Regions from separate parts of the Homo sapiens genome. Here regions 2, 3, 4, 5 and 6 are each linked to region 1. Evidence: promoter capture Hi-C in 16 types of primary human blood cells and fetal thymus (Javierre and others, 2016). All regions are on one chromosome and are shown on one strand. The core of a region is centred on a gene start or on the middle of the fragment in contact, and the rest is flanking DNA. Distances in the headings are between cores, read along the strand shown. Region 1 holds the start of RPAP3 (RNA polymerase II associated protein 3). Region 2 holds the start of KANSL2 (KAT8 regulatory NSL complex subunit 2). Region 3 has its middle 60 kb from the start of PCED1B. Region 4 has its middle 38 kb from the start of PCED1B. Region 5 holds the start of ZNF641 (zinc finger protein 641). Region 6 overlaps PCED1B (PC-esterase domain containing 1B).

What was found. The method cuts DNA at HindIII sites, captures the fragments that hold promoters and counts their contacts. A CHiCAGO score of 5 or more calls a contact.
Region 2: the fragment with the promoter of KANSL2 here is called in contact with the fragment with the promoter of RPAP3 in region 1 in 1 of 17 cell types (fetal thymus); the score reaches 5.5 in fetal thymus.
Region 3: a contact is called between a fragment that was not itself captured here and the fragment with the promoter of RPAP3 in region 1, in 1 of 17 cell types (activated CD4 T cells). The highest score is 5.4, in activated CD4 T cells.
Region 4: a fragment that was not itself captured here is called in contact with the fragment with the promoter of RPAP3 in region 1 in 1 of 17 cell types (naive CD4 T cells); the score reaches 6.1 in naive CD4 T cells.
Region 5: the fragment with the promoter of ZNF641 here is called in contact with the fragment with the promoter of RPAP3 in region 1 in 7 of 17 cell types (fetal thymus, non-activated CD4 T cells, activated CD4 T cells and 4 more); the score reaches 13.9 in fetal thymus.
Region 6: a contact is called between a fragment that was not itself captured here and the fragment with the promoter of RPAP3 in region 1, in 5 of 17 cell types (erythroblasts, M0 macrophages, naive CD4 T cells and 2 more). The highest score is 7.1, in erythroblasts.

What each region holds. Positions count from the first base shown.
Region 1 is chr12:47,703,550-47,707,725 of GRCh38, forward strand. It overlaps RPAP3 (RNA polymerase II associated protein 3), which reads right to left and starts at 2,481. Exons shown (of 17, transcript NM_024604.3): 1 at 2,403-2,481. It overlaps RPAP3-DT (RPAP3 divergent transcript), which reads left to right and starts at 2,539. Exons shown (of 4, transcript NR_183480.1): 1 at 2,539-2,614. RefSeq lists enhancers at 1,695-2,196, 2,197-2,696, 2,417-2,711, 2,643-2,792 and silencers at 1,943-2,032, 2,063-2,352, 2,423-2,502. The HindIII fragment of the contact is 881 bases long and covers 1,782-2,662 here.
Region 2 is chr12:48,680,212-48,684,387 of GRCh38, forward strand. It overlaps KANSL2 (KAT8 regulatory NSL complex subunit 2), which reads right to left and starts at 2,027. Exons shown (of 10, transcript NM_017822.4): 1 at 1,976-2,027; 2 at 1,171-1,430. The coding sequence starts at 1,421. RefSeq lists an enhancer at 1,725-1,994 and silencers at 2,075-2,284, 2,325-2,374. The HindIII fragment of the contact is 8,142 bases long and covers 1-4,176 here.
Region 3 is chr12:47,017,760-47,021,935 of GRCh38, forward strand. No RefSeq gene overlaps it. Among named protein-coding and RNA genes, the nearest start is that of PCED1B, 60 kb to the right of the region's middle. The HindIII fragment of the contact is 563 bases long and covers 1,646-2,208 here.
Region 4 is chr12:47,039,892-47,044,067 of GRCh38, forward strand. No RefSeq gene overlaps it. Among named protein-coding and RNA genes, the nearest start is that of PCED1B, 38 kb to the right of the region's middle. The HindIII fragment of the contact is 960 bases long and covers 1,674-2,633 here.
Region 5 is chr12:48,349,000-48,353,175 of GRCh38, forward strand. It overlaps ZNF641 (zinc finger protein 641), which reads right to left and starts at 1,920. Exons shown (of 6, transcript NM_001172681.2): 1 at 1,787-1,920. RefSeq lists enhancers at 1,431-1,500, 1,939-2,675 and silencers at 1,641-2,070, 2,351-2,430. The HindIII fragment of the contact is 6,093 bases long and covers 1-4,176 here.
Region 6 is chr12:47,080,315-47,084,490 of GRCh38, forward strand. The region is part of intron 1 of PCED1B (PC-esterase domain containing 1B); the gene reads left to right. Among named protein-coding and RNA genes, the nearest start is that of AMIGO2, 2.4 kb to the left of the region's middle. The HindIII fragment of the contact is 733 bases long and covers 1,329-2,061 here.

The sequences.
Region 1 (4,176 bases), core at 1,231-3,730:
TGCTATGGAACTGACTGCAAAAAATAGGCATGGATCAGATAGTAGGGTGGTGGTGTCACGGAAGGAGTCCCCAGAGGTGTTGGAACTTTAGCTGGATTTCAAAGGGGCCCGCCAAGTGACTAACAGGGAGGAGTGGGCAGGCAGAGTGAGGAATTATGAGGGAGAATGAAGGAAAAGAAAATTAAAGAGGTGGACATGGGACAGACTTGAAATGGCAGGCCATGAGGTCTAACCTATATTCTGAAAGTTATGTGAAAATATCAAGGTAGTAAAATAAAAAGAACTTGATGACTGACTAGACTGAGGTGTTGGAGAACAGAGAAAGACTCAAACAGTGGCCTAGATTTCTGGCTTGGGACCCCGGTAAGATTACTGATGCCATTTTGAGTCAAGAAATACAATGTTAAAAGGAAAAGAGGCATCAAAGTTGGAGGGCAAACGGAAAGTCAGATTATTTGTTTGGGATATGCTGAATTTGAGTGCTAATGGGGCGAAGAGATACCCCATAGGTAGCTATGTAGGAATAGAGATAAATTCCGGTGTCACTAGCAGAAAGGTAGAAGCTAGAATCAAGGATGTGGCCATGTTTAACCATTGTGACAACTGGGGAATGGGGTGAACCTGGAGAACACTAAACGGAGAAAGAGATGCCAAGGAAGAAAAAAGTAGGCAGTAGCACCTAGACAGTTGGGAGAAAAACCTAGAGTGTACTGTTACAGATGACAAAAAATGAGTTGAAGAAAGTGAGAGGTTAGCAGTGCCAAATGCCACAGAGGGAAAGAAAGTGCATTATATTTAGTCATAAAAAGACTATTCAGAGTTTTTGTTTTTTTTCTTGAGACAGAGTCTTGCTCTGTCGCCCAGGCTGGAGTGCAGTGGCGCAAACTCAGCTCACTGCAACCTCCACCTCCTAGGTTCAAGTGATTCTCCTGCCTCAGCCTCCCGAGCAGCTGGGATTACAGGTGCAGGCCACCACGCCCGGCTAATTTTTGTATTTTTTTTTTTTTTAGTAGAGACGGGGTTTCACCACGTTGGCCAGGCTGGTCTCGAACTCCTGACCTCAAGTGATCCGCCCACCTCGGCCTCCCAAAGTGCTGGGATTATAGGCATGAGCCACCGCGCCTGACCTCTATTTAGAGTTTCAATAAGATTTTTTTTAAAGGGTGGAAGGCCAACCGCAGGTGGCTCATGCCTGTAATCCCGGCACTTTGGGAGGCAGAGGTTGGGGGGCAGGGGGAATAGCTTGGGCTCAGGAGTTCCTAGATCAGCCTGGGCAACACTTCGAGATCCCCATCTCTACTAAAAACACAAAAATTAGCCAGGCGTGGTGGAGGGTGCCTATAGTTCCAGCTACTCAGGAGGCTGAGGTGGGAGGATCGGGAGATCGAGGCCACAGTGGGCGGTGACGGGCCCACTACACTCCAGCCTGGGACCAAAAAAAAAGGAGGGGGGGGAATGAAATGAGTTACGTAAATGAGATTATATGGAGATTACAGTACATTTGCCTTTGATAATATAAGACTTGTTCTTGAGCATAGTCTGGGGAAAAAGCAACAAAGTAAAAGATACAGGAAAAAGGATGAGTGATGGGGCAAAATCTCCAAAAAGGTAGGAGAAGAGTCAAAGCTTTAGGCGGAGGGAAGAGAAGTAAGGTGGGAGGGAGAGAGACGGAATTAGAAAAACATTTGTTTAGGACAGTGAAAAATACCTCACTAAGAAGGGACAGTTGCAGATGCAGATAGGTCTTCTGACTCGTAGCCTCAACAACTAAATTAGGTTTAAGCTTCTTTCAGGCAGTGTCCATGTTTGACCATATATGCACAACTCATTCAAAAACAAAACTAGTACAACGCTTTGTTGGGAACTCAAATAAATGAATAAAAGCGCAACAAGTCAGTGAGATGCTGACGGGGGTTAGATGCTTTTCCATTTCACCCATCACCGCTGCTGCTCGAGCAGGCCCAAAAACTCTCCCAGGGACCCTGCGATGGGGCGGGGGTGCGAGCCAGCAATCAAAAACTTCCAGCGCTGGGGGTATCACTTTCACACCCGCTGTCCCGGCGAACACCGCACACCCACGCCGCAAGGGGGCGGGCCCCACCTCGGTCTTTGCGGGAGGGCGGCTCTGCCTTCCCGAGCACTGCAAAATCGCAGCAGGGTGGAGGGTCCGCCTGCAAAGCAGAGCGCGCAGGCCCGGGTTGCGGGGGCGAGCCCCTCCGGGAACGCGCGACCCGAGACGCCGCTGCCCTGGACACCGACGCGCCGCCTCAACGCGCGCCTCCACCGCCAGCCCCGGCCCGCCCCGCCTCACCGGTACCCATAACCGCTACCCCTCCTCCCACCGGCCACCCCAAGGATCTCCTACGCTGCTCCGGGCAGCGAGAACCGCAACGCCCGCTCACCTGACCAGGCCGTAACCCGCCGCACTGCCACCCCGTCAGCCCCGCAGCGACTCACGCCGAGCCCGGCAGTGACTCACGCAAAGCCCCGCCTCCTGCGCTTCCCCACAAGCCCCCGCGGCCTCGCCCCGCCCCCTTTAGCCTGGGCTTGAGCGCGCGCAGAAGTCAGCTTCGTGACTTCCTTCTCAGGATGGAACCAGCTTGGTGGCTTGAGGGTATGTAAAAGCAATATCTGAGCCTTCTGCCTGCTTCCAATATGACTAAGCTTAAAAGGAGATAACCCAAAAACTGCAGGATCATCCTGATTTTCTGATCTCCAAAACAATAAAACCTTGAATATTTCCCTGGACTCCCTTAAACAGTTTAATCCCTAATATTTACCTTGCTAATCTCTGACCTTTGTGACATTAATTTGTCTGACCTTTGTGAGTATAATAACCATGTGAGAAAGTTACTGTTTTTCCACCATGAACAGACTACTGTCAACCGGTAATCCTGGTAATTTTAGGGGATTTTTTTTTCCCTTTAAGTACTGGTTGGCAAACTAGTCCTTCCGTCTAACTCCTCGCATCTTTTGCAAGTAAACCCCTTTTCTAAGTGAATCTATCTCTGAGTCTTTCTTTGACATGTGCCAGTGTTACAATCTGTCTTTAGATATGCTCTGGCTTACAGAGAAAAAAGAACGAAACTTTTAACACTTTTTGCTTCTGCTTCCCGTGTGAGGGAGTCTTCGTTGCAATGACAACTCTTAAACGAAAGCAAAACAAAAATAATTGCAGAAGTCCACAGAAGCAAACACAAACAAATGAAACTTTCCATTTAAAACAGGACTGTAACCTCAAATATCCTCAAAATCCAGATCGGTGGTTCTCAGTCTTGACTGAGCTTTGGAATCACTTAGGGAGTATATACATATACACGTGTGTGTGTGTGTGTGTTTGTGTCTGTGTGTGTGTGTGTGTGTGTGTGTGTGTGTGTGTGTGTGTGTATACTGATTTCTGTGTCCTATCCCAGAGATTCTGATGTAACTAGTCTTGAGTGAAGCCAATCAGAATTTTTTAAAGCATAGGATACGGCTGTGCATTTGAAGCTGGAAGCCACTAACCCAGGCGCTGATCAATGAAGAACTAGGCTGGAGTGCTGTCTTACAAGGTCATATCATTAGCACATCCTTCCCATTGCTTAATTATTGGTATCTTTATATTTTAAAATCATAGTAGTCAAATCATTAAGTGTACGTCAAAATATTTACTAATGAAATGATTCTTTGGTTGTATTAGGGAGATAGAGAACTGACTTTTAATAATTTTTTTATTAAGTATTTAAAAGCAAATATTGATTTACTGGTGTTTTTAACAAAAGCAACCACATTTGTTTTATTAATTCTGACAGAGTTGATTGAGAAGAGAGATAAGGGGGCTAGCTGGCTGCTCTAGTAAAACCTCATAGACCCTTAGGTGACCCTGCTTTTCTCTCTCTTTTTCTCTCTCAAACCATACAATAATCAGAAGTAGCTTAGTGAATATAGAGTCAAAGTGAGAAAAGTTAATCAAATGGTTTTGATGGTCATCATCACCTAATTCTGAGGCTCCTGCTGTCCCACAAAACCTGTGCCTGCAATGGCAGCCTTCTCTCCTGTGAGCTCAGACCTAGGCCACCTTAAGTTCTTTCCTAGATTCCTTGCAGACCTCCCCACTTCTATTGGCAGTTATCTTTAAATGGATTTCAACAAAATGTGTAAATAATGCCTTTCTTTTAAGTCTCTTTTATTCATTTA
Region 2 (4,176 bases), core at 777-3,276, 980 kb after region 1:
CTGTGCCCAGCAAATTTTTTTTAGTTTTTTGTAGAAACGAAGTCTATGTTGCCAAGTCTGGTCTGGAACTCCCAGGCTCAAGTGATCCTCCCACCTCAGCCTCCCAAGTAGTGGGGACTACATGTCCACGCCACTATGCCCAGCGAGTTTTTTAATCTTCTGTAGAGACGGGGTCTCACTGTATTGCCTGGGTTGGTCTCCAACTCCTGGCCTCAAGTGATCCTCCTCCCGTGGCCTCCCAAAGTGCTGGGATTACAGGCATGAGCCACTGCGACCAGCCAGGGACACAATTTTAAAACTATAAGATACGTAAAAAATTATCTAGTCAGGTTATGTTTTTGCATGGATACCTTTGCATACATGATGAAAACTATGAAGCCTCTTACAGAAGAATACACACATATATAACTTTGCATGTTATTTAACAAAATTCATGGACAGCCAAATAGAGCCACACACCCCTCCATTAAGAAGAATTTTAGGGGCCAGGTGCGGTGGCTCACTCCTGTAATCCCAACACTCTGGGAGGCCGAGGCGGATGGATCACCTGAGGTCAGCAGTTCAAAACAAGCCTGGCCAACATGGTGAAACCCCGTCTCTACTAAAAAGTACAAAAATTAGCCGGGCATAGTGGCGCACGCCTTAAGTCCCAACTACTTAGGAGGCAGGAGAATCGCTTGAACCTGGAAGGAGGAGGTTGCAGTGAGCCGAGATCTCCACTGCACTCCAGCCTGGGGAATAAAGCAAGAATCTGTGCGCCGCCCCCCCGCCAAAAAATTAACTTTAGGGCCGGGCGCGGTCGCTCACGCCTGTAATCCCAGCACTCTGGGAGGCCGAGATGGGAGGATACCTTGAGGCCAGGAGTTTGAGACCGGCCTGGTCAAAATAGCAAGACCCCATCTCTCTTAAAAAAAAAAAAAAAAAAAAAAAGACTAATTTAGAATATGCCTTTATTTTACAGATAAGGGAAAAGAACCAAAGAGGTGAACTAAGTAATCCAACTCAAGGGTCTTTCCAGTCTTCACCGTTTTTTCAGTTTTCCAAGGATACAACCATAACCCCAAATTTACAAGGACAAAATCTCAAACGCGGCAGCTATGCTGAAGCCCGCATCATATCACATACCCCCTCGCTTTAAGAAAAACGACATATATATCTATACATATATACCCATCTTTCTTCTCTGGCTTTGGGGCAGCATTGGGACATCTTTTTCCATTCTTCGTCGATATATAACTACACTGCTTGAAGGGTGCATTCTTGTCTTCAAGGATATGCTTAATGCAAAACTCCTGCCCCTCCAGACGAGGGTGAGAGCATGGACGATGAGTGAATGCACAAGACAGAGGTTCCTGAGACCTGGGCACTGGAGTGATCCTCCCCCGATTGGTTGGCAAGACGTGAATCCGAATCCTGTTCATAACCAAAACCTGCGGGGTCAAACGAAAGACCAAAAAGCCCTTACCCTTCCCGAAAATTCCTGCTCCACACAGATCGCGCGGACAGTTTCCAAAGGACATGCAGAAGTCGTCCCCGTAAGGTACGCTCCGTAAGTCCCCGCCGCCCTCCCCAAGTCTCCACAGGCATCTGTGGCTTTGCCTCCCTTTAGCGTGTCCCTCCATGCCCGGCCCCACCCCGAACCACACCACGCTGAATGTATCTTCAGGACTCGCACAGCTGCAGCACGAAGGGAAGCGACAACACCAGCCCCACGCGGCGGCCACGCCGCCTCCCCGCACGCCGCCTTTGTCCCGGCCTGCCTCAGAGCGCACGACTGGGCCTGGCCTCGGAAGCCTATGCGAGCGCCATTTTGTCCTACGGCTCCAGTCACCGGAGATCCTGGCTCCTGGAAGCCTGCAGGAAGGAGACTGACTCTGACACTGCTTTGAGGCGGAGTAGCAGCTCTGAGCTGACAAAAAGAGCGAAATAGCAGCCCAACCGCAAGAGCTTAGAGGAAAGAGCACCGCCATCTTACCTCAGGAGCTGCGCTGCGCCGCACTCTGCCGCGCCGCTCGCCCTTCTCTAGTGGCGCCAGCGGCTCTCAGATCGGCCTCGCCCCTTTCCGGACTCCTGGCTACTCATTGGCTACCGCTCGTATGACAGGATGTCGCCATTGGCCGAGACCAACTACCTATCGTGTCTGGGAGGGCGGAGCGCTGAGAAAATGCGAGGTTGGGGTGGCTAAGACAGACTGTCTGTCAGCAACTCCGCCCGGAGGAGAGTGAGCCGGGGAAGGGGGCGGAGAGCGGGCTGCGGGGCGGGTTGCCAGCTAATATTTTTCCACCTTGCAGCGTGGCTCGTTTTCCGGCTACTTTTGGACCCTCAGTCTGTGGTCCTAGGCTGCTGTTCCCTCACCACTGTACACAGCTAGTATAAAATCAGACAGACAGGCCGGGCGCGGTGGCTCACGCCTGTAATCCCAACACTTTGGGAGGCTGAGGCTGGCAGATCACCTGAGGTCGGGAGCTCGAGTCCAGCCTGAGCAACATGGAGAAACGCCGTCTCTACTAAAAATACAAAATTAGCCGGGCGTGGTGGTGCACGCCTGTAATTCCAGCTACTCGGGAGGCTGAGACAGGAGAATCTCTTGAACCTGGGAGGCGGAGATTGCGGTGAGCCGATATCGCGCCATTGCACTCCAGCCTGGGCAACAAGAGCGAAACTCCGTCTCAAAAAAATATATAAATAAAAAATAAATCAGACAGAGGCTGGAGGATCACTGTTTACACATAAAAAGTCTTTAGCTTTCTTTTGTGAACAGTTCAATACATGTACTGAACATTTGGTATAGAGAACACTGAGAAACATTTTTTGGGTGTTTACTGATTCTGGGAATTACATGTATAAAGTCATTGAATTTTTCAAAGCAACCCTAAGAGGTACAGGTTAGTATTATGTCCATTTTACAGATAAGAGGACTGAGGAACAGAATGGGACCATAGCTATTAAATGGGAAAGGAAGACGAATTTGAACCCAGCCCGCATTCTTTATCCCTTATTGCCTCTTATATAGTAAAGAGCATTGGACTGAGAATAAGGAAATATTTGTTCTAGTTTAGGGCTGCTTCTCATAACTGTGTGCCCTGTCTTTAAAATTCCATGCTAAATAATGCAGGTATCATAAAAATGACAGACACAATACCAATCATACCATCCTTTAAGGATTTTTAGTTTAAAAGCATCTTTCTGTCATCTCCACCACTTGTAGAAATGATTCCTAGCTTTCTTCCCATAACCCTTCTAGACATTTTTTGCTTTCCAGCATCTCTTATCTCCTCACTGTCAGTTTAAGAAAGATGTTTTATCCATGCCTAACGAGCAAGTGAGCATGAGTCCCAGTGGAAGTGAACATAAAGATTCCACAGCCCTCAAGAAAAACACTAAGGCTGGGCGTCATGGTTCACCACTGTAATCCCAGCACTTTGAAAAGCTGAGGTGGGAAGATCACCTGAGCTCAGGAGTTCGATCCCAGCCTGGGCAATATGGAGACACCTCATCTCAAATAAATAAATAAATAAATAAATAAATAAATAAATAAATACACTATAGGACCGATAAATTATTAAAAAAAAAAAAAAACCTTGGGGGTTGTGCTGTTTCCAGAGACTAGAGCAGCCCTAGAAGAAGGCCTGAAATTCATTCATTCAACGAATATTTATTGAGCACCTAAGTGCCAGGAGAGAACAAGGAAGATAACCCTGCTCTCTTGGAGTGAACATTCTAGGATAGCTTTGGATTATGGATGCAATACAAACATAATATTAATAACAATGATTTATATACATAAGCAAACAGACCAACCCTCAGGAGTACGAAAAAAGATGTTTTGTTATAAACACCCTATAATTAAAAAACAGCCAGAGGCAGTCATGTCACAGAAAATTTGGGAATCCGAATCTGCAACCAAATGTAGTAATATCAAAAAGCAACATTAAAACTACTGTAGTGAACAATATGAAGAGACACAGGAATAGATGGGGAAGAAACAAAAGACTTTCTTTCAATGAATTTACTGAAGGTCTTAGTTGAAAAAAGAATCCTTCTTGTAAGTCCAAGACAGACAAAACATTACTATTTAGAACCACTTCTTTTTTTTTTTTTTTTTTTTAGCGGGAGTCTTGCTCTGTCGCCCCGGCTGGCTGGAGTGCAGTGGCGCGCGATCTCGGCTCACTGCAA
Region 3 (4,176 bases), core at 677-3,176, 690 kb before region 1:
CTCCCCTTTCACTCCTACACCTACTATCTGTTCAGCCCTGCGTCTCTTAGAATTTTTTAAACTATATTCTCTCTCATCTCCTAGCTTCTACTTTCTTTCATTTTCCTTCAGGGCTAAACTGTGATAAAAGATGGATCCTCTGCTCTGCTTAGCAACCCCGAAAGCTCTCTGATGCTGCAGGAGACAGTCTCAGCTCCTTTGAGTGGCCTTCTGGCCCCTTGTACAAAGTCCTCACAAACTCATCACCTTCTCTTCTCCCCAAGCACACTGCATTCCAACCACACCCTTTGTCTTCCCATTCCCTAAACAGGTCTCAAACACTGAATCATGCTACAAACATCTTCAAGCCTTTTCACATGCCCTCTGGATGTCCTCCTCCTTTTATGCCTAGTAAAAGCATCCAAATCCTTCCTGGCCTCACCCAGTACCACACAGATTCTACAGGCAGAATCAGGTTATATCCTAGACTCTCATGATTTCAGAGGCTTAAGCTCTTCCTCCCACAAAGTTATCCCATCATGGGATTATGCAACACAAATTATGACTGAAGCAAGAGGCAAACAGAAGCCCAAGTCCCACCTGGCTCAGGTTTCTCTGCACCCCACCCAGTCCAGCTGAGCATGACCACCTCTGTTCACAAGGTGCTCCTACACACCACCATCATCGGTGTTGGTCTTCTAAGTTTCTCAAAAGAACCCAAGGCTAGAAGGCCAGACTCAAATTTAGAATTCTCAGACTTCTTGAAGATCCACCCAGGAATTTTAAGAACCTACCATCACCTGACTTTTCCTCCATACCGGCTCTGCCCAGTACTGTGAGCATAGATACAAGGATATCTCAGCCGGCATGTCCAAACTCAAGCCACACCACCACCACCATTACCTCCTCCAAGCACCATCTCTTGGAAAATGAGACTATCTGGACAAAAAATTCCCTGGCCATGGATACTTAGAATATGGTAGAAAGGAGGCCACAGGATGTAGGTGGCCACATCTCTGTGGTCCCAAGACTCCTTGCATTATGGAGAGAAGTGTAGCCACCTGCACCCGGGTCTTCTGACAAAAGGAGGGGGCAGAAATGGGAGACGGGGAAGTTAGGATAGCATCTACGGACAGGGGCTTCTCTTGTCCTGATTTAAGACGATCAGGCAGTGGTGTGTCTTCAAATAAAAACAAAGACAAGTCTCACTCTGTGAACTGTTTGTCTCTCTAGAACACTGGATCTCAACCAGGGGTGATTTGTTCTCTATGGGATACTTGGCAATGCCTGGAGATATTTTGAGTTGTCGTGATTTGAGAAGATTGGGAGTTGCTACTGTCATCCAGTTGGTAGAGACCAAGGATGCTGCTAAAACTCCTACAGCACATAAGACAGTTCCATCACAACAATAATATAATATTAGTTTGGTACATTACTTCTAATGGCGAAAACCACAATTATCTTTGCACCAACCTAATAATAATAATGGAAAACATTTTCTAAAAGTTAATTTGTAAATTGGTTATATATAATATTGTTGTCAAGCAGATCTTAAAGCAATGGTTCATGTCACTTAACTGCACAAAAGATTTAATCACACACACACGCACACATGTGCATGCATGCATGCACACACCCAGCTTATGAACTAAAGTTCAACTTTCTAAGCTTGACATTCAATATGACTCTTGATCTGGAGCCTACCCTGTTTATCAATTTAATCTTTCTCTATGATCTCCTTATGTAACCCAAAGCCTGTGTCTATGCTACTATCAGACTTAAATATTTTAGACTGCCATATGGCTATCTCCCATATTTTCCCTATCAATTTTTGGCATACTCAACCCCATTCCTGATAGTGAATTAAGTCTTCAGCTGGACCTTCTAATGTAAAATGTTCAAATTCAGAAACTAACTACACTTAAAACAGAATTACCCACTAGAATACATCAAGGCTGTACCACTAAGATAATAATAACTAGCTCTTGGGATTGGAAGGATAAGACAACGATACCATGTATAAATCACTGTGAAGATGTTACCATTATGATGTCCCTACCTCATAATAGCACTCAATGAAATGTCTGTGTCTCTCCTATAATTAAAAAGGCATTCCAAGTAGGAAAATAGCTTTTGCAAATAAATTAAAGTAAGGCTATTTACAGTAAAATAATAATAATAATAATAATAATAATAATAATAATAATAATAATAATGTAGCACAATAGAAGCTTATTTCTCACTCACATAAAATCCAAAACAGATGTTCCTGCTTGGTGGCAGGAGTGGAAGGTCGGCTGTGTGGATGAAGGAAGACTGCTTCATAGCTTCACGCAGAGCCGTAGGCTGGAAGTCTCCATCACCTTCCACATGTGGCTTCCATGATCATCCTGTGTGTCAACATCCAGTGGGCAGATGGGAAAAGAGAAAGCACAGGGTATGTGCCACCACTTCTTAACCACTTGGCCAAGACATGGTACACATCATCTCAGCTCATATTCCACCGGCAAGAACTAGTCCCACCTGGATGCAAGGGAGGGTAGGACTGGAAAATGAGGGCCCTGGCTGGGCAGAGCTTCTCAGCAACAACGCTACACTATGGAAAGGACATTAGCTATCTTTACCACAGCAAAGCACAAGGGTATAGGAGATGAAGCAAAGACAGAGAGCAGTGGGCAGGCTTGCCTGGCTAGAATATGAATTGGAGCTTCGTGGCAGATGAGAACGGTTAGGTAAGGAAAGACAGCCAGATAACAGGAGACTCATGACTCTATCATTATGAATGTTTTCTATTTGAGAGACAGCTGTGAATCCGACCTTGAAGAAGAGTTATTTGATAAATAATGATGTTTAAAACAGACACTGTAGCCACAAAGTAATTTTTGTTTCATTACGAAATGAATCTGGTTTTTATTCAGGCATATCTTCCTTATGTGGAAATTCATAACTTTAAAAACGAATCATTGCATCACTAAGAACTCTTTTCACAGCATTCTCTTACCCCTTCCAAGTACCCTTTTCAATCAATGTGCTTTCTCCTTCCTTCAATTGCTTCTATGGGCTTGCAGAATCTGCTGCTGTGTTTGTTCCTTTGCTGTTCTCCTTTAATTGCTGTCTCTGCTGTGTCTGGTTCTCCTCCTTTCTTTTGGCCCAGACTATTTATTTCTAAAACCCATCAGCATTCTGTGAGGGTTAGGATTCATTTCAGAGAAACTCAAGGGAATTACCTCTGGGTGATTTTTCAGCCCAGGTATTTGGGGCAGTTAAAATGTCATTTATTTCTCTAGACTTGCATGATGTTGTGCAAAACATGAAATTAATCTTAACTACACAACATTCAACTCTTGACATTTCAAGACCTTTATTAAAATGTTGAAATAGAATTTTCCTTTAAATATGTTAATAGAAGAGACTTGTTGCTTTCCCTATGTGATAACTTTCTTCAACTCCCACATCATCTTTCATTACCCAGAGAAACACACCTTTGATTTTATAACGGAAGTCAATGGAAAAAAAACTTGCTATATAGAAATACACATTTACAGTAAAGTTTTTTATGCTGATATTCACTCAGTAATAGAATGTATACCCATATAATCTATTGTTCTAGCTTTCCATAGATGTCAAAAATGTTGTCAGCCTGATGCTAGAATATCACTGCTATTAGTGTGCCATCTAGTGGCTGATGTTGTGATATTTTCCATTCTTTGTTGAGGTAGAAGAGGCTTTAAGTGACATATGGAAAGTCCAGTGAGATTCCTTCTTTGATACAATGCAGGGATGACACAGTTGTATAAAGCCAATGGCCAAATGTTGAGTCATCTGATGATGTGTAGAGGATCGTTTGTAAGTTCTTACTTAGCCAATATAATTAAGAAATGAAGCTATTACAAGAACAATTAAATATATTTGTTAGCTCGCTGTATCATGATGCACAAACCATATGTGCATTAACCATATACCAAGAACCAGAATACAATAAAATGCATTTGACCCTAAATTTAAATTAGATTTAATTTTACTCTTGTTATTCAGATGGTACTTTAGGATCTTATAGGTCTAGGCTTTGAATACTAATTCTCATTGTGTAGTATACAAAAATGTATGTTTGAGCTTTCTGGTTGCTTGGATTTAAAACTAAAAGTGGTTTTGTATTTATAAAGGATCAAACCTATCATGCATAGTGTGAGTGGCAGC
Region 4 (4,176 bases), core at 904-3,403, 660 kb before region 1:
TCCTCAGAAACAATCAAAAAGTGAAAAACAAACTGGACCCAGAAGAGCAGAAGCCTGTGGTTGAAAGGAAAACAGAGCAGGGAGAAGGAAGATCAGGACAGTATTGAGAGGGTATACCAGCACTGGGTTAAAACAATCTGGGTGACGTTCAGTAAAGCTCCATTATTTTTAACTGGGATTTTTGGGGCCAGCCACTGAAGTGGGAAGGTTTATCCCTTTCCTGTGGGTCTTTGGATTTTCATTAAATCTTTCCCTATTCCCTTAAACAAATTTTGCCCTTCTGTCATCTAGTCCACTTCCTCTCTGTTGGTGGCTAAATGGGATCATCCTGGAGGAAACTTAAGGCTATTTCATTTCCCATTTTAAGTGCCTTTTGGGGCTGAACAGAGATCTGCAGTTGATTTGTTAGCTGGCAGAAGTGTGGACAGTGAAAATTGCAAATTGATTTTTTCTTGAAGGGTCAGCTATTGGCTCACATTTTCAGGTAATCAGTTATGATGCTATCAAATAAAGCCACTTGCAATAGTGGCCATCTAATAATAACAAATGTAGATTACCCCACACATTATTTAACTCTCTAAAACACTAGCTTGTGGCTGCAGGTACAAAACTCCAGTGAGAAAATCTTGCAAAAACATTTGGTGCAAAATCAATGATAAAATCTTTCACAGCATTTTAAGAGTAACTGTAAGAAGAAAGCAATTGTAGTTATTCATTTAATCGTTTTTCTAAATAGAGTCTACACATGAGCTGAACTCTTCATTTGGAATGAAATAATCCTTTTGAAAATTTTACTCTGCATTAGATTTTATCCCAAGTGGCCCAAGAAGCACTATCTAATATGACTAACAACCACACATCTATAACTAGTACAACTCCAACTATAACTTTGTAGGACCTATTGAAGTGGTTGACTTATGCTTATTAAAATATTAAATAAGAATGAAACCAGTCATTCTTTGGAAGATTCCAAATAATGTTGTAGAAACTTCTATTCATTTATATATTCCAAGATATCTTCCATAAAGTGGATAAGATTTTTAAAAAGATGTAAAAGGACCAATTTTGAGTGTGGCCCAACCAGACTCAATTCTGGAAATCAATTCTTACACATTATCAATTATTCATATTAATATATCATTATATATATATAACTTTTTACACTGATTTATTTATTTTATTTGACACTATAAAATAAAGCAACCTAAAATAAAGTCAGTATTGCCTTGGAGAAATATTCTGTTAATCTTTCCATTCTGAAAATGAATGCCATAGGAGAATGACGAACAACAGAAAATTTATTAGCGTAATGAAAGAAAATTTAAAGTACTCCCCTAAATGCATAGAAGTAGACTATGCCCTGAAACTGTTTTTGAGTAGAAACTTTCTGAATATTGAGTTACAATGGTGCATTTGATCTAACAAAAAAGATGAAAATATAAAGAATTAATTGTCTCAATTCCAGAGAATATTGTATATAGTTGTGTATATAGTTGTGAAAAAACTGGACAGCACTTTTTTCATATTAGTTCACATTCACAAAGTTCATAACAATACAATATGACTCATAGTTGTTCATTACTAGGACCTTGAACTACAAAGAAACCCGCAGAATATTCCTTGGCAGCTCTGGCTTCATGGATATATGACTTTGCATTCATACACGAATCTTAAGCTTGGAAAATCAGCTGAGCGCAGTGGCTCACACCTGTAATTCTAGTACTTTGAGAGGCAGAGGTGGGCAAATCACCTGAGGTCCGGAGTTCAAGACCAGCCTGGCCAACATGGTGAAACCCCATCTCTACAAAAAATACAAAAATTAGCCAGGCATGATGGTGTGCGCCTATAATCATAGCTATTCAGGAGGCTGAGGTGGGAGAATCACTTGAACCTGGGAGGTGGAAGTTGCAGTGAGCCAAGATTGTGCCACTGCACTCCAGCCTGAGCAACAGAGCAAGACCCTGTCAAGAAAGAAAGAGAGAGAGAGAGAGAGAGAAAGAGAAAGAAAGAAAGAAAGAGAAAGAAAGAAAGAAAGAAAGAAAGAAAGAAAGAAAGAAAGAAAGAAAAGAAAGAAAGAAAGAAAGAAAGAAAGAAAAAAAGAAAGAAAAGAGACCCTGCAGTACGAAAACTGAACTGTGATTTATCCATATGTTATGCCCCTCTATTTCATAAATATTAAGAAAAATCATTTTGACTGTGATTAAATGTATATATACTGAGCCAAATATTTTTCTTTCAACTATTTTCCCTTCCTTCCCCCTTCTTCCTTGGATTTTTTTTCTCCTTAACATTGACTATGGTCTATATATATGTGTGTGTAGGTCTAGTACTGAGCTCTCTATGATGTTCCATTTACCTTTCCTTGTGCCATATACAATGTCTTAATTACTATAGCTTTATAATAAAGTTTGATATTTGATCATACAAGTTCCCATCTTGTTCTTTAGAACTGTCTTGGTTATTTTTGGTCCTTTGCTAGTCTATATAAATTTTAAAATCAACTTGTGATGTTGGGATTCTAGGAGTGTTAATCAATTCATGAAAATTAATGTCAATACAATATTAAATCTGACTATCCATGAATATGGTATATCTCTTCATTTGTTTAGGTTTTATTTAATGTCGTTTAATAAAGCTTTATAATTTTTACCAGATATGGGCTTACACATCTCCCACTAGATTTTTTTTCTCTTGGATAAAATATTTATTTTTATTGTAATTTAAAATAGTATAAATATTTTTAAAGTTTTTTACTTTTTAAATATTTGTTTACAGTTCATTTTTGAGGTAAATATACATACAGTAAAATAGACAAATACAAGTGCACAATTTGTTGAATTTTGACAAATGCAAACAAACGTAGAGGTAAGAATGTTTTACATAGTATAATCTTTTTAATAACATTTTTAGCTGATCATTGCTGGTGTATAAAAATGCAATTTCCTTTTTATTTTGTAGACAATTATACTACCCATAAATAATGACCAGTTTGTTTTGTTTCATTCTAACTCCTAATTCCTTTTATTTTACTTTTTTATTCACATTACTATACCATCTAGGCCATTTAGTAGAGTGTTAAACAAATGTAGTAATAATAAACATCTTTACCTATTTTATATTAAACTTAAAATTTTTCACCATTAAGTATAATATTGCTGTAGTTTTTTGATAATATTTACACGTTTAAGAAATTTTTCTTCCATTATTAGTTTGCTTAAGATTTTCTAAACCATAAACGGATATTAAATTTTATCTAATACAATGTGTCTACTTAGCTCATTATATAGCTTTCATTCTTTAATATGTTAATGGTGCAGCGGGGTGCGGTGGCTCACGCCTGTAACCCCAGCACTTTGGGAGGCTGAGGTGAGTGGATCACAAGGTCAGGAATTCAAGACCAGCCTGGCCAACATGGTGAAACTCAATCTCTACTAAAAATACAAAAATTAGCTGGGCGCAGTGGCAGGTGCCTGTAATCCCAGCTACTTGGGAGGCTGAGACAGGTGAATCACTTGAACCCAGGAGGCAGAGTTTGCTGTGAGCCCAGATCGTGCCACTGCACTCTAGTCTGGGAGACAGAGTGGGACTCCATCTGAAAAAAAAAAAAAAAAAAAGAAATATGTTAATGGGGCATGAGTTGGTTAGCCAACTGCACAGTTTGAGGTGGCATAGTCCACGCAAGACTGTCCTCACTTTTGACAGCAATTGCAAGTTTAGGGGCTTCCTAAAACCACCTTCAGGTTACCTAATCCACAAGGACTCCTGGAACTCACTAAAAGTTGTTATAATCCAGGTTAGAGTGTATTACAGGAAGGATACAGATTAAAGTCAGTCAAGGAGGGGCACCTAGAGCAGAGTCCAGGAAAAGTATCAAACATGTAGCTTCTGTTTTTCTTTCTCCATGGAGTCCTGGACACATTACTTTTCAAATATCAAAGTATAACAATGTGCACAAAATATTGCTAATGAGGAAAGCTCAGCAGAGCCAGGTGTTCAGACTTTTTATTGAGGCTCCATGATGTAGACATGGGCGATTGCCAATGTGGCTGATTTCAATCTTCAGCCTCCACCCTCTCCAGACATGACCCAAATCCCCCACGCTAAATCACATTTCTGGTCTTTCTGGTGTAGCCATTCTCCATCTTAAATCATATTTTTAGACAATCTGGTGACCCA
Region 5 (4,176 bases), core at 670-3,169, 640 kb after region 1:
GAAAACATCAAAGTCAAGAAAGGGATTGGAAATACAGCCACTGGGAAAGTTAAAAATGTCGGATGTAGTTTTCTCTGTCTGGAGAAGAAGGCTGATGAATGATGCTACTAATGAATAAAAACAGAGGTCCCTTCTATCTCTATATAGGTCAAACAGAAAAAAATGGGTCTTGATTGCAAGAGAAGAGATTTAGGTTATTTTTTTTTAATTCTTAATAATCCTGCAGTGTACAATACCAGATAGTGGGCTCTTCTTTTTCTTTAGACAACTTAAGAGCAGGATGGGTCACACTTCTGTTGTGATAGGGCTTTATGGCAGAGAAATAATCTGAGACTCAGAATCTCTTTCTGTTTGGCAACATATTTTGGGTATTCTTATTCAATATCCAAACAGTCAGAGTCAGTGAAAGGCTTCCAAGAGCAGTCAGAAACTTGGTAACTATCCTGGCTTACTTACATCCTTTCAATAACACTTGCAAGAACCTTGAAGGCCAGGGTAGGTAATCACAGATGTCAAGTCGTCTATTTTCTTGCCTATTTGTCTTTGACAAAAGAGGTAGGTGGGAACCCTAAGCCCAATGCACAGGAAAAACAAATTCCCTTTTTATCTCAGAAGTCCAAAGATGGCTCAGGGCCTCATGGGAGCACCCTGGACTGATTCCCAGCCTAGGAGGTTTCCTTTTCAGAGACTTTTCATGAGAAAGGAAAATTCTTGCTAAAGCAATAAAGGGAAACTTCCATTTTAGCTCTCTTCTCTGAATTCCAGCTCTGTATCCACTTTTAACACACAGGGCACTAATTCTCCCTCTTCGTCCCATCTTTCTGGTTCTCTAGCTCCTGTGCAAATCCTCCCTGAAGGCTTTACCTCTAGCTACATATCTGGACACTTGTCTCAAACCCTTTCTCCATCTCCCCCAGGTAGCAGAGTCTCTTAATGGGAAGCCTCTTTGTGCAGAGCCCATTGGGCCAGCTGTAAGTTTTTCTATACCACTGACAGAAATCCGTGGAAGTGCTAGCAAAAATCTCAGCAAAGGATGGGATGGGTACCTGTCCTCAGCTTGCATTTCCTAAGATATTCACGCAGAGCCAGCACCTGGGCGGTTAAGGTGGTAGCCCTAACCTCGTTTCTCCTGGTTCCAGGATGATCCCATGCCCACTGCAGTGTGGGTTCTAGGGCTTTCATTTCCCCCTTTTCTTCACACATATGGGTAGCAAGGGACCTGCAAAAGGAAGTTTCTGCAGCCAGTGCTGATGAACAGAAAAGGGGCCATGTTATAAAAATGAGTAGCCCAAGGGCACACGGACGAGTTGGCTCCGTCCATCAGAGAACCCTGGCCCCTGCCACGGGTAGGGCATGGGCGGGACGGGAGCCTGCTCAGGGGTAAGGTTGCTTCTTCCCTTCTTCTTGTCACAGTGCCCCTGGAAAGGGTCAGATTTCAGAGAATCCGAGCAAGGCAGAACTGGAGCAGGGGAAGTGAGGTCAGAAAACAGGTTTCCCATGAGCTGGGGCATGAGCAAGTGAAGAGAAAGGGAGCCACGGGGTAACCTGTGCGCGAGTGACAGCGGCGGGAGCCCGCAGGGCCTGACAGTTGCGATGGGCACGGGGAGACAGGGCGAGAGGCGGGCACAGAATGTCAGCGGGGCAGACCCCCGGGAAAGGCAGCAACCCGGAAGACGCGCCGATCCTCCTCCCAGCCCCTATGGGTGACCGAGCCCCCACCAGCCGCCCCGGGAAGCCAGGCGTCCCTCCCTCCAGCCGCAGCTCCCTCCGGCCCGGCTCCACTCACCCCCGGTAGGCTTGGCCCGCGGCCCGGTGCCTCCCTCCCGGGCGCCGCCTGCCCCTCCCCTCCGCCCTCCGCTTGCGTCTGGGAGCCGGCGGCCGGCGGAGCCAGCGACAGGCGGAGACGGCGGCCCGGCAGGCGCGGGCGGGGCGGGGCGGGCACAGGAAATCCCCGCCCGCTTCCGGGGCTCTGCGGCGGCGGAGGTGCGGGGAGTGGGAGGGAGAGGAGTGGGAGGGAGAGGAGTGGGAGGGAGGGAGGGAGGGAGGGACGGGAGGGGGCGGGGCTGCGGCTCAGGCGCCCCCAAACGCGAACCCGGGACCTCCGCGCCCGCCGCTGTGGGGAGGGTGCGGCCCGAGACGCTTGGAGGGCGGCGGGCGCCGGAATCGCAGCCTGCTGTGGCCACTTGCCCGCACTCTTGCCTGACTGACCATTTTCCGCTCTGGCTACTGGGCCTCCCACGGAGTTCTGTCCTCAGGGTTCGTCAATTACCTGGAATTGCGTAACCGCCCGTTACAGGCCAGACCGAGGCCGAGAGCGATTTCTCCAGACAACAGTCTGGAATTCCTCAAGGAGCGTACCCTCTAGTTTTCACGATAGGATAAAGGGCTTGAGAGAGCACTGAGGAGGAGTCACTTATTCTGCCTGAGGGGAAGTCAGGTTGCTATCTGAAGTTGGCCTTGCGGCTGCTGTCCCATTTGCGGGAGCCGTAGCCGCAGGTGACACCTGAGCTCTCGAAATGTGGCTGGTCTGAATAGAGATGTGTTCCAAGATTTAGAAGATTTAATTTAAAAAGTGATATTTTGGGTATATTGGGTTAAATATATTAAAATTAATTTCACCTGGTTTTAACTTTTTAAATGTGGCTATAAATATGGCTTGCATTATATTTCTATTGGATAGTGCTACCTTGCAGCATTAAGATGGATTTGACTAGAAAAGATGAGAAGGGCCTACAAACAGTGAGTAAACCCATTGCTGTTAGAATCTGTTTATAACCTACAAGTCACATTCACATTCCTTATTTCATCATTACAACAATTTTCAAAAATTTTATTTAGTAGACTTAAAAAATAATTGACTCACTTAAGGTCATATGTGACAATCATTCGTTTAATGCATATTTATTTTCTACGTGTGCCAGACACTGTAACTAAATGCTGGGAGTTAAAGGATTCACAGTCTGGGGAAGCACATGTCAACAAATATTTGCAATAAAAACGTAGATTCTAAAACAGAGGAACGTACGCTGCACTTGAAGCAAAGAGAAGTGACCACGTATGGGACGGAGGTCAGAGAAGGCCCCCCACTCTGACAGAAATCGTGAGGCAGAGAAGAGTCAGGAGGGCTGTCTAATGAAAGAGGAAAATGCAGTAGACACGCAGTTGGGAAGAGTATAGAGCATATTCTAGGAGCAGATCATGGGATATGTCGGGGTAGTAGTAGAGCCAGAATTTTTATCCCGGGTCCTGGAACTAAGTCCAGGGGTTCTTTTCACTTATGCTACCACTGGTGGTAAATATAAGGTGCGTTAATTGGAGTAGGCTAGCAAAACCAGTATCTCGGGGCTTAACTCCATAAAGGCTTATGTTCATACAAGTCACAGTGTGGTAACAAGTTGGTTGGGGCCAGAGGGTGGGGTCTGTACTTCTTGAATTCATTGAAGGACCAGGCTTCTTGCATTTGGTGGTTCTCCCATGCCGAGGCCTTGGTAATGTAGTCAAATCTGTGGCCCTCAGATAAGGGAGGCTGGCCGTGGTTAACTTGTCAGAGATATTAGGGGCCAGTCCTGGAAGTGGTGTGTATCATTTTCACCCCATTCCCTTAGCCAGAACTCATGCGCATGGTCACATGGCCCTACCCAGAAGGGTGGCTGGGAAGTAAAGAATGTGTGCCTCATGGAAAAGGAAATGGGCGCTGCTGGACACAGCATTGCCTCGTCACACAGAGTTAAATTGAACATAACCAAGTACGTAAACCTGACTTTACCTGAAAAGAATGTTTGGAAAGAACTGATAGATATTATAATAGCCCAAACTCTCCTCGACTGTTTTGGGAAACAAATCAGTGTGAGATTGTTTCCAAAAAATAAAAAAAGCCAGGTGCAGTGTCTCATGCCTGTAATCCCAGCACTTTGGGAGGTAGAGGCGGGCGGATCACAAGGTCAGGAGTTCAAAACCAGCCTGGCCAACATAGTGAAACCCTGTCTCTAGCTGGGCATGGTGGTGCGTGCCTGTAGTCCCAGCTACTTGGGAGGCTGAGGCAGGAGAATCGCTTGAAACCAGGAGGTGGAAGTTGCAGTGAGCAGAGATCGTGCCACTAATACTCCAGCTTGGGCAACAGAATGAGACTTCGTCTCAAAAAAAAAAAAAAAAAAAGAGGCTGAATGGTATCATCTT
Region 6 (4,176 bases), core at 445-2,944, 620 kb before region 1:
TCGCGGCGGCCGCACAGGTCACGTCTCTCTCCCCACCCAGGCCAAGGAATCCCCGGACCTCTTAGAGCTTTGCTTTGGGGCAAGGGCCAAGGAGGCTTTGCCTGCGCCAAGTGCAGTTGACTGTCTGGGTTTACAAAATAAACCCAGAAGCAGCCTGACGTCTCCGCTCGTTTCTAGGGAGGAGGTCGCGGGGAGGGAAGTCGGGAACGTTTCCTCTCCACAGGGATATCTGCTGGGAGGAAGTAACCGGGAAATCGCCACGGGGACACCCCTCACCTCCCTGGGAAAGTTCTATCCCTTTCCTGACTCAGGAGGCGGCAACAGGGATGGTGTCCAATTCAAGAAGGAGGAGGGCAGGAAAGAAGGCTTGGAGCCGACCTTCCGGCTGGAATGCAAAGATAAGAGTATTAACCCAAATAATAATAATAATCCCAGAGCAGACCTTTTTTTCTTTTTTCTCTCTTCTCCTTCCCCTCTTCTCTCTCCCTCTCTCTCTCCCTCTCTCTCCTTTCTCTTTCGTTCTCTCTCTCTCATTTCCTCTGTCTCTGTCCCCGCCACCTCCCCGTCTTTTGCAAGCGTGCTCGTGGCGCGTGCGGGACAGGGAAGTAAGGGGCGTGTGCGCGGAGGCTCTTCATCCCTTCCGGAGATGCCGCGGCCGACCAGCGCGCTTTGGTTCAGCAAGCACAGAAGGTGCAAGCCGAACAAGGCCATTCAGAAATGAGGTGGAGACTATGAGGCTGATGAGCTCTACGATTAAAAATCCATTTTTGTTTAATTCCAAGATAAGTTTTAACGATGGGATTTGAGTGAGTCAGATCGCCCATTTGGCCATTATATCCGGATTAAAAGAAATAAATTACTGCCTTGACAAAAGATGCCAACCACAGTGGAATGAAAAGCAACCAAATTGAGGAAACAGTTGGGGCAGGATAGATAACTTGTAATATTACTTAAAAATAAAAATGATGAGGACAACCAACTCTTCCTCCCCTCCCCCGCGCACCTTTTCACTTGAGCAATCTTGAATTTAGTGAAAGTTGTTTCCTACATGGTCCGTGAGTCATTGCTGTGGTCAGGCAGATTTGTTAGACCAACACCTAATTTAAATAGAATTGTTTGTGGAATAAAGCCGGGCTAGCACTAATAAATCTAGGCATTTTCAGATGAGGACAACTTGATTCAGATTAATTTATTTCATGAAAGTTGAATTTTATCATAAGAACACAGCCTAAAATGCTTCATGCAAGCATTTCTTACTGTGTACTTAAAGGGGAGAGGCAGAAGTTGAGATTTTCTAGTATTAGGCCACACTTCCTGGGATTCTCAAAAGCTTGGTCTCCAGGACTTCAATTTTATAGAGTTAGAATAGTTAATACAGAGGAATAGAATTAAAATCGCTCAGAGGAATATTTTTTAAATGACTAATAAATGACCAGGTTTTTGCAGGATTTTACTAATTAACATCGTATTTTAAGGAAACCATGAAGGCAGAAGAAAGACCTGTATTTAATGCAAAAATAGTCTAAAAAGAATAAGTGATTCAAAAAAATGGAAACAGGAAGGTTATATTATTATAACTACAGGCATATTGTAGAAACATTATGCAGAGATTACACAGCAAAAGTAAACTAAATGCACTCAAAATCCATAGACAAGGCTATTTATCCATTTGAAGACCTGATTTGGGGGATTTCACATGTTTGTGAAAGGGAAGAACGTTGTAAAAGGATTGAGTTTACTAGCTGGGAGGAAAGAAAGATAAGAGTTGATCTTAAGGTATAAGACGTGACCTTATTTTGTGGAGGATAACATTTTTATCTTTCTAGCATCCCTTCTCCTTCTAACAGATTCCCTCTTTCCACTAGAAGGTAAATTCCAAGAGGATAGCAGTTTTATCTGTTTTGTGTATTGCTGTATTCTCAGCTCTCAGAACCCTGCTTAACACATTCAATAAATTTTTGATAAATGAACTGATGAACAGGGAACCTATTCAAAGTGGTTAAGATAACGGTTTACCCCAACTGAATCTGCTGGTTGCTGTCCTGCCTTTTATGCTTTGAAAGCTTGTCTTAAAAAAAAGGAGAAGAAAGAGAAAGAGGAGTCCTGTAAATGTTATTTGAGTCCTGGATCTGGTAGTACCTGAAGGCCACTGCATACTTTTACTTCCTTTTTAATTATATTTTCCACCCCACCCCCTTTTTTAGCTTAAATTATTTTGAGTTGCATGTCACTTGTGACGGACAGAGTACTAACACATGTAATGATGGTGATAATAAATATGTACTGAGCCTTTATTATATGCCAGACACTGAGCTATGCGTTTTACATGCATTATTTCATTTATTGCTCACCACAGCCCTGTGACATTATATAATCCTATAACCCAGATGGTAAACAACTGTGTTCCAAATTATTTGAAAATGAAATGGGATGCAATTATCTCAAGGTTCTATTTGAAGGATTTAGATTAAACAGAAGAGAGACGTTTCTGCCAGGGTGGTTCCAACCTGGAATGGGTTGCCAAGACAGATGGTTGAGTTGCCTTCTCAGGAGTTTAAAATAGGATGCGATAGATATTCCTCTGGCCTCTTCCACATGACATAATACATTGGAATTTTTGACCATTCAGTAATGACTCCAAGGGATAGTAGAATGTGGCTTGACACTTGACATAATTCTGAATCTAGTATGCTGAGAAGGGGGTGTGGTCATGTGAGTGTCTAGCTGGGTTTGGAAATACTATCTGCCTGAGGCAGTAATTTGAGGTGATGAAATCACAGGAGTTCTAGCCCTGTAATTTCCACAATTTCTCAGGTTGTAATCAAAGATTTAAGTAATTAGAGATATGAGACAAGAAATTAATAGCACATGTTTGATGATTCTAAGTCATTTTTACTAATAATTAACACTTCAATAGCACTTTATGTCCTAAGAAGGGCTTTCACATTCTTTATCTCCTTTGACTCTACCACGCGTCCTGTAGTCAGGTGGAATTTATACACTGGCAGATATCTTGTTGCCTCTTTTTTCGGCGTGAGGCACACTGGGTGTTCTTTGGAGATGGAGCTCACTGGGGTCACTGATTGCTGCATGCAGGAGCTTCCTGTGGAGTTTCATCACTCTGGCGGGCAGCACTCTTAATAGGATTTTTACAGTGTAACTTAGCTTGAACCCACAAGAAAAACATACCTTTGCCCAACAACTATGGAAGTGCACTCAGCTCCTACAGCATCCTGTTCTTCTCTTGGCCTGCTCCAGTTGGTTTTTGTAAATTGCCTAAGATTTTTTATAGAACCAGATCTCTCACCCCATCCTGTGTCTTTCATTATATGGAGATACATTTTCTGGGAAAACTCAGACTCCAGCTCCTGTGCTTTCTGAACTCCAGGAGGCATGGGTCAGCTTATGGCATGTTTCTCTGGACGCTCCCTTTACTTGGCTGGAAATGGGGGGATAGAATGGGAGTATTCAGTATTCTGCAGGAGGTACTGCATGTCCTCCCCAGGAAGAGCTCACAATGGGGCTACTCTTTAAGCAGTCTCCACTCACTCATCTGGTTGGTCTGTCTCTTATCTTCATTGACATAGGCCGGACAGTTTTTTGTTTTTTAATTCACTTGAGATAAAATCCACATGACATAAAATTCACCATTGTAACAATTTTAAAGTGCGCAGTTCAGTGATTGTTTAATATATTCACAATACTGTGCAACCATCACCACTATCTTAATTACAGAATACAGATGCTCCTCAATTTACAATGGGATTACATTCCAAAAAAAACTCAATAAATAAGTTAAAAGTGCATTTATTACACCAAATCTACTGAACATCATAGTTTAGCCTAGCCTGCCTTAAATGTGCACAGAACACTTACACTAGCCTACAGTTGAGCAAAATCGTCTAACACAAAGTCTATATTATATTTAAAAAAGTGTTGAATTGCTCATGGAATTCATTGAATACTATACTGAAAGTGAAAAACAGAATGATTGTATGGGTACTTGAAGTATGGTTTCTACTGAATGTGTATCACTTTTGCACCATTGTAAAGTTGAAACATCCTAAGGCAAACTGAACCATCATAAGTCAGAGACTGTCTGTATTTTCATCACCCCAAAAAGAGGTCCTATGCCCATTAAGCAGTTACTCCTATTTCCCTTTCTCTCAGCCCCTG